Regions from separate parts of the Homo sapiens genome. Here region 1 is linked to region 2. The links are contacts of gene promoters, found by promoter capture Hi-C in human tissues and cell types (Jung and others, 2019). All regions are on one chromosome and are shown on one strand. The core of a region is centred on a gene start or on the middle of the fragment in contact, and the rest is flanking DNA. Distances in the headings are between cores, read along the strand shown.

Region 1 (2,823 bases), core at 109-2,608, 64 kb before region 2:
AGCTACTCAGGAGAGGCTGAGGTAGGAGGATCACTTGAGCCCAGTAGGTTGAGTCTGTGGTAAGCCGTAATTTGCACCATTGCACTCCAACCTGGATGACTGAGTGACATCTTGTCTTAAAAAAAAATTAAAAAAAAAAAAAAGCCCTCTTCTTTGACCCCATCTCCCTCTGAAGCCACTAAGCTGCTTCTCTCCACTTTACAGCAGCAAAATTTCCCTAACGAGCTGTCGATATTCACCTCACTTCCTATTCTCTCTTCGAAGCATCCCAATGTGGCTTGGACCACTTGTCAAAACAGTCACCATCATGTTGTCAAATCCAAATAGACATTTCTCTATTCTCATTGTGTAACTTCTCAGCAGCATTTGACAGAGGTGACCATTCCCTCTTTCTTGAAAATAATAAAATACTCTCCCACTTTAATGGCTGAACCTTTTCAGTCTCCTTTGCCCAAGCTTTAGCCGTTGTTAGTGTTTTAGGGCTTTTTTTTTTCCCCACACAGAGCTGGCTGTGTGGGAGACCAGAGTTTTATTACTCCAGTCTCGCAGGGCTTGATCTTAAGGCCACAAACAATCTCAATCAGTTCCATGACATGCCATCTGTATACTAGTGACTCCCAAAATTTATGTCCAGTCTAGATCACTCCCCTCAGCTCAACTTAAATATTCAGTGCCTACTTAACTCTCCGCTTGGATGCCTCCCAAGTATTTACACAGAACTCTTGCTACCCACTCCTCTCCACCTGTTCCTCCTCCAGTCTTCTCCAACCAGCAAATGGTACCATCAGCAGCCCAAGGCTGGAGCCTGCAACCTGAAGGCACCCTTGATTCCTCCCTCTCCCTCCACAGCCAACCCATTAAGCAAATCCTTCTGATTCCACCTCCAAAATACATATGTAAAAGTTGCTGTCTACTCTGCTGTATCTCATTGCCACTTTACTTGCCTGAGATACTATCGATCTTGGGCTGACTACAATAGCCTCCTAACTTCCCTGTTTCCTCTCTTCCTCTAAATAGCCAGTTATTTTTAAAAACATTATCACTGCCCAAATTAAAACCCCTCTCATTGCCATTAGAATTAAATCCAAAAATCCCCCTATGGAGTAATACAAGACGACCTATAGGATCTCTCCAACTCCATCTCATTCCTACCCTATTCATAATTTCTCCCCTTGCTCAGAGGAGCCTTCTCTCCAGTCTAACAACCAGCCTTCCAGGTCTTTGAACTTGTTCCCAGGTCTGAAATGTCTCCCCAGCTTTTCACATGGCTAGCACAAGTTCATGTTTCACGTCTCAGCTCAAATATCACCTCTATGAAAAGACTTTCTTTGACCCTTACTAGCCAAAATGGTCATTCCCAACATACTCTTTTAGATCCACCAGCCACTTAATATTTTTTCTTAATCTGTCATTATCTTGATTTTTTAACTATTTTCTGTCCTTCCCCACTATACTGTAAATTTCATGAGTGCAGAGATCTTGCCGGTCTTAAAATTCCAACAAGGTTAAAGAAGCTACTGTTTCCCTCTAAGCAGTTTTAGATTTCCCCCTCCTTTCAAGCTTTATTGGATTTTAGTCTAGTCAAAGATTATAATTACTTTGGCATTTACCATAAAAAACAAGGGGAGAAAAACCAGAAGTGACTTCCCTTCAAAAACTGGAAGTCACTCCACCCACCTAGTGGTCTAGACTGGACACAGACTGCACAGAGGTATCCAACAAATGCTCCTTACAAAAACTTTCCAATGTGGACATATGCAAAGATGGTATAATTCTGACATCTGCATCAAAAATCTAAGTTTTAAACTACTCTCCCTAGCAATTACTAAACACAACGATTTGAGAAGAATCAACAAGAGAAAGCACAAAATAAAATCCATGATCCTTAATCCAGAGAAATTAATGATTTCATCACTGACTTGGTTCTTTCTCATTTTAGTAAGGTCATCTATTCATCACCTGCTCTAGATGCTTCTTCCTGACCTGTGTTTTTTGTCTCCAGGCTGGAGTGCAGTGGCGCGATCTCAGCTCACTACAACCTCCGTCTCCCAGGTTCAAACCATTCTCCTGTCTCAGCCTCCTGAGTAGCTGAGATTACAGGCATGTGCCCACCAAGCCCGGCTAATTTTTGTATTTTTAGTAGAAACGGGGTTTCACCACGTTGGTCAGGCTGGTCTCGAACTCCTGACCTCGTGATCCGCCCACCTCGGCCTCCCGAAGTGCTGGGATTACAGGTGTGAGCCACTGTGCCTGGCCCTGACCTGTGTTTTTATCCATATTCTGCTATTAGGTTCCACATAACTTGACTATCCTACTTCCCAAAACCCAGAAGATATGTCCACAATTCAAAATTCAGGAAACAACCTTTTCTTTTAAGGATTTATCTTCAGGTCTTTATATCAGGGTCTTTTCTACCCTATTCTCAATTTCTGGATCAATCCTGGATTCAATTCTTTTTTTTTTTTTTGAGATGGGAGTTTCGTTCTTGTTTCCCGGACTGGAGTGCAATGGTGGGGTCTCGGGCCACTGCAACCTCTGCCTCCCCAGTTCAAGTGATTCTCTCGCCTCAGCCTCCCAAGTAGCTGGGATTACAGGCACCTGCCACCACACTCGGCTAGCTTTTTTGTATTTTTAGTACAGACGGGGTTTCACCACGTTGGACAGGCTGGTCTCTAACTCCTGACTTCAGGTAATCCGCCCGCCTCAGCCTCAAAAGTGCTGGGATTACAGGCATGAGCCACCGTGCCAGGCCTCAAGGCTACGTTTGTTACACAGCTGTCTTGACTAAACTAGATGGCCTGGCTAGACCTAGAAGCCTGTATG
Region 2 (2,742 bases), core at 151-2,650:
TCACTCTTGTCACCCAGGCTGGAGTGCAATGGCGCAATCTTGGCTCACTGCAACCTCCACTTCCCGGGTTCAATTGATGCTCCTTCCTCAGCCTCACAAGTAACTGGGATTACAGGTGCCTGTCACCATACCCAGACAATTTTTGTATTTTTAGTAGAGACAGGGTTTCACCATGTTGGCCAGGCTGGTCTTGAATGCCTGACCTCAAGTGATCCACCCACCTTGGCCTTCCAAACTGCTGGGATTACAGGTGTGAACCACTGTGCCCGGCCAAGTTTGGTATTTTATTGTTGTTTGGATTTGCATTTTCCTGCTTATTACCCAAGTTGAGATCTTTTCCAGATTATTGGACTTTTCAAGTTTCCTAATTATGAATTGTCTGTTCCTGGTTTTTGCCTATTTTTCCAGTTGATTATTGGTCTTTTGATTGTGAATTTTTGTTTATTGTGAATTTGTGAGACTTAAAACATTTTTGCATATTAATTCTTTTTTTTTTTTTTCCAGACAGAGTCTCACTGTCACCCAGGCTGGAGTGCAATGTGGGGATCTCAGTTCAGTGCAACCTCCACCTCCTGGGCTCAAGCGATCCACCTGCCTTGGCCTCCCAAAGTACTGGGATTACAGGCATAAGCCACCATGCCTGGCCACTGTATATTACTTTTTAATTTTACAAGTTGCAAATGTTTTCTCACGATCTGTCACTTTCTTTCTTTCCTTCCTTCTTCTCTTCTTTTCTTTGTCTTTTTAAAATTTGAGACAGGGCCTCACTCTGTCACCCAGGCTGGAGTGCAGTGGCACGATCATGGCTCAGTGCAGCCTTGAACTCCCCAGGCTCAGGTGATCTTGCCACCTCAGCCTCCAGAGTAGCTGGGAGAACTACAGGTGCATGCCACCATACCCAGCTAATTTTTTTTTTTTTTTTTTTGTGTGTGTGTGTGTGTGTGTGGAGATGGGGTCTTCCTATGTAGCCCAGGCTGGTCTTGAACTCCTGGGCTCAAGTGATCCACCCAACTTGGTCTCCCAAAGTGCTGGGATTATAGGCGTGATCCACTGTGCCTGGCCCTGTCATTTCTTTTCTCAGAGAGGATAACAATTTATTTGTCCTACAGAAAGTTTTAAATGTTGAAGGAGATTGGCCTGGAAATATGCTTTTGGGGAGCAACACGGTCTGAGCCAGACATCCAGATACAGCCCATTCTTCTGGCCAGTCTTGCCCTTTGCTCCTGATTCTCCAAGCTGTACCCAGAGCTTTCTGGTTCAGCATGTACCTGGAGGCTGCTTTTGACCATGTTTTGAGAGTGGCATGGCTTTATCTAATGGGATGAACCTGGCTAAAGAGATTAGCAAAATGTCTTGTGGATCCCACTTTTAATCTGCAGCGTTCAGGCTGCCCCTTCTTGGCTGGGAAGGGCGCTGAAGAAACAACGCCCAGGACCAGGACTATCCCCTGCTCAAGCTGTGATTCCGAGACCCCTGCCACCACTACTGCATTCACGGGGATCCCAGGCTAGTGGGACTCGACATGGGTAGCCCCCAGGGCAGCTCCCTACAGCTTGGGCCATCTGCACTTTTCCCAAGGCCCTAAGTCTCCGCCTCTGGGCTCGTTAAGGTTTGGGGTGGGAGCTGTGCTGTGGGAAGCAACCCGGACTACACTTGGCAAGCATGGCGCTACTGAAAGTCAAGTTTGACCAGAAGAAGCGGGTCAAGTTGGCCCAAGGGCTCTGGCTCATGAACTGGTTCTCCGTGTTGGCTGGCATCATCATCTTCAGCCTAGGACTGTTCCTGAAGATTGAACTCCGAAAGAGGAGCGATGTGATGAATAATTCTGAGAGCCATTTTGTGCCCAACTCATTGATAGGGATGGGGGTGCTATCCTGTGTCTTCAACTCGCTGGCTGGGAAGATCTGCTACGACGCCCTGGACCCAGCCAAGTATGCCAGATGGAAGCCCTGGCTGAAGCCGTACCTGGCTATCTGTGTTCTCTTCAACATCATCCTCTTCCTTGTGGCTCTCTGCTGCTTTCTGCTTCGGGGCTCGCTGGAGAACACCCTGGGCCAAGGGCTCAAGAACGGCATGAAGTACTACCGGGACACAGACACCCCTGGCAGGTGTTTCATGAAGAAGACCATCGACATGCTGCAGATCGAGTTCAAATGCTGCGGCAACAACGGTTTTCGGGACTGGTTTGAGATTCAGTGGATCAGCAATCGCTACCTGGACTTTTCCTCCAAAGAAGTCAAAGAGTGAGTGGCTTCCAGTCCTGGGGTCAGAGCTATGAATATATTGGGGACACTGAGGCTCAGGCCTCTGACCAGCCCCTCTCCCCGCACCCAGTGCCTTTTCCTCTCCATCGGGTGCACAACTTATTGCTGCGTATGTGAGGGTGTATCAGGTGGAACCATATGAAATTGCTAATATTCTACCTCTTTGACCCATAAAAAATGACAACTTCATAGGGTTCAACCTAACATTGGCTAAGGTGGTAGGAAGGTATCAATTTATATAAGCTGTTTGGATAGGAGCCCCTTGGGATGAAGAGCCAGGCAGCAATGTGTGTCCACTTTATACAGAGGGATGGAAGTCATTCATAGATCACAAACACTGAGGTACTATTTGGCTATTTGTCCCATTCATTCAAAGTAGATGGATTCAGTCCCAGAAGTTTAAATTTCCTAGTTAGTTCCCTTGTTTTCCAACCTTTCAACCCTGAGCATCCATTCCCAAGATGTTTGTCTGGATATG

What was found. The method cuts DNA at HindIII sites, captures the fragments that hold promoters and counts their contacts. A contact is called where the count stands out against the background at its distance.
Region 1: a contact is called between a fragment that was not itself captured here and the fragment with the promoter of PRPH2 in region 2, in 2 of the 25 tissues and cell types used here (pancreas and spleen).

The regions. Positions count from the first base shown.
Region 1 is chr6:42,785,207-42,788,029 of GRCh38, reverse strand. The region is part of intron 1 of BICRAL (BICRA like chromatin remodeling complex associated protein); the gene reads right to left. It overlaps LOC401261 (a long non-coding RNA gene), which reads right to left. Exons shown (of 2, transcript NR_134654.1): 1 at 2,699-2,823. Among named protein-coding and RNA genes, the nearest start is that of BICRAL, 4.6 kb to the right of the region's middle. The HindIII fragment of the contact is 4,014 bases long and covers 1-2,823 here.
Region 2 is chr6:42,721,255-42,723,996 of GRCh38, reverse strand. PRPH2 (peripherin 2) reads left to right here and starts at 1,400. Exons shown (of 3, transcript NM_000322.5): 1 at 1,400-2,243. The coding sequence starts at 1,663. The HindIII fragment of the contact is 25,287 bases long and covers 1-2,742 here.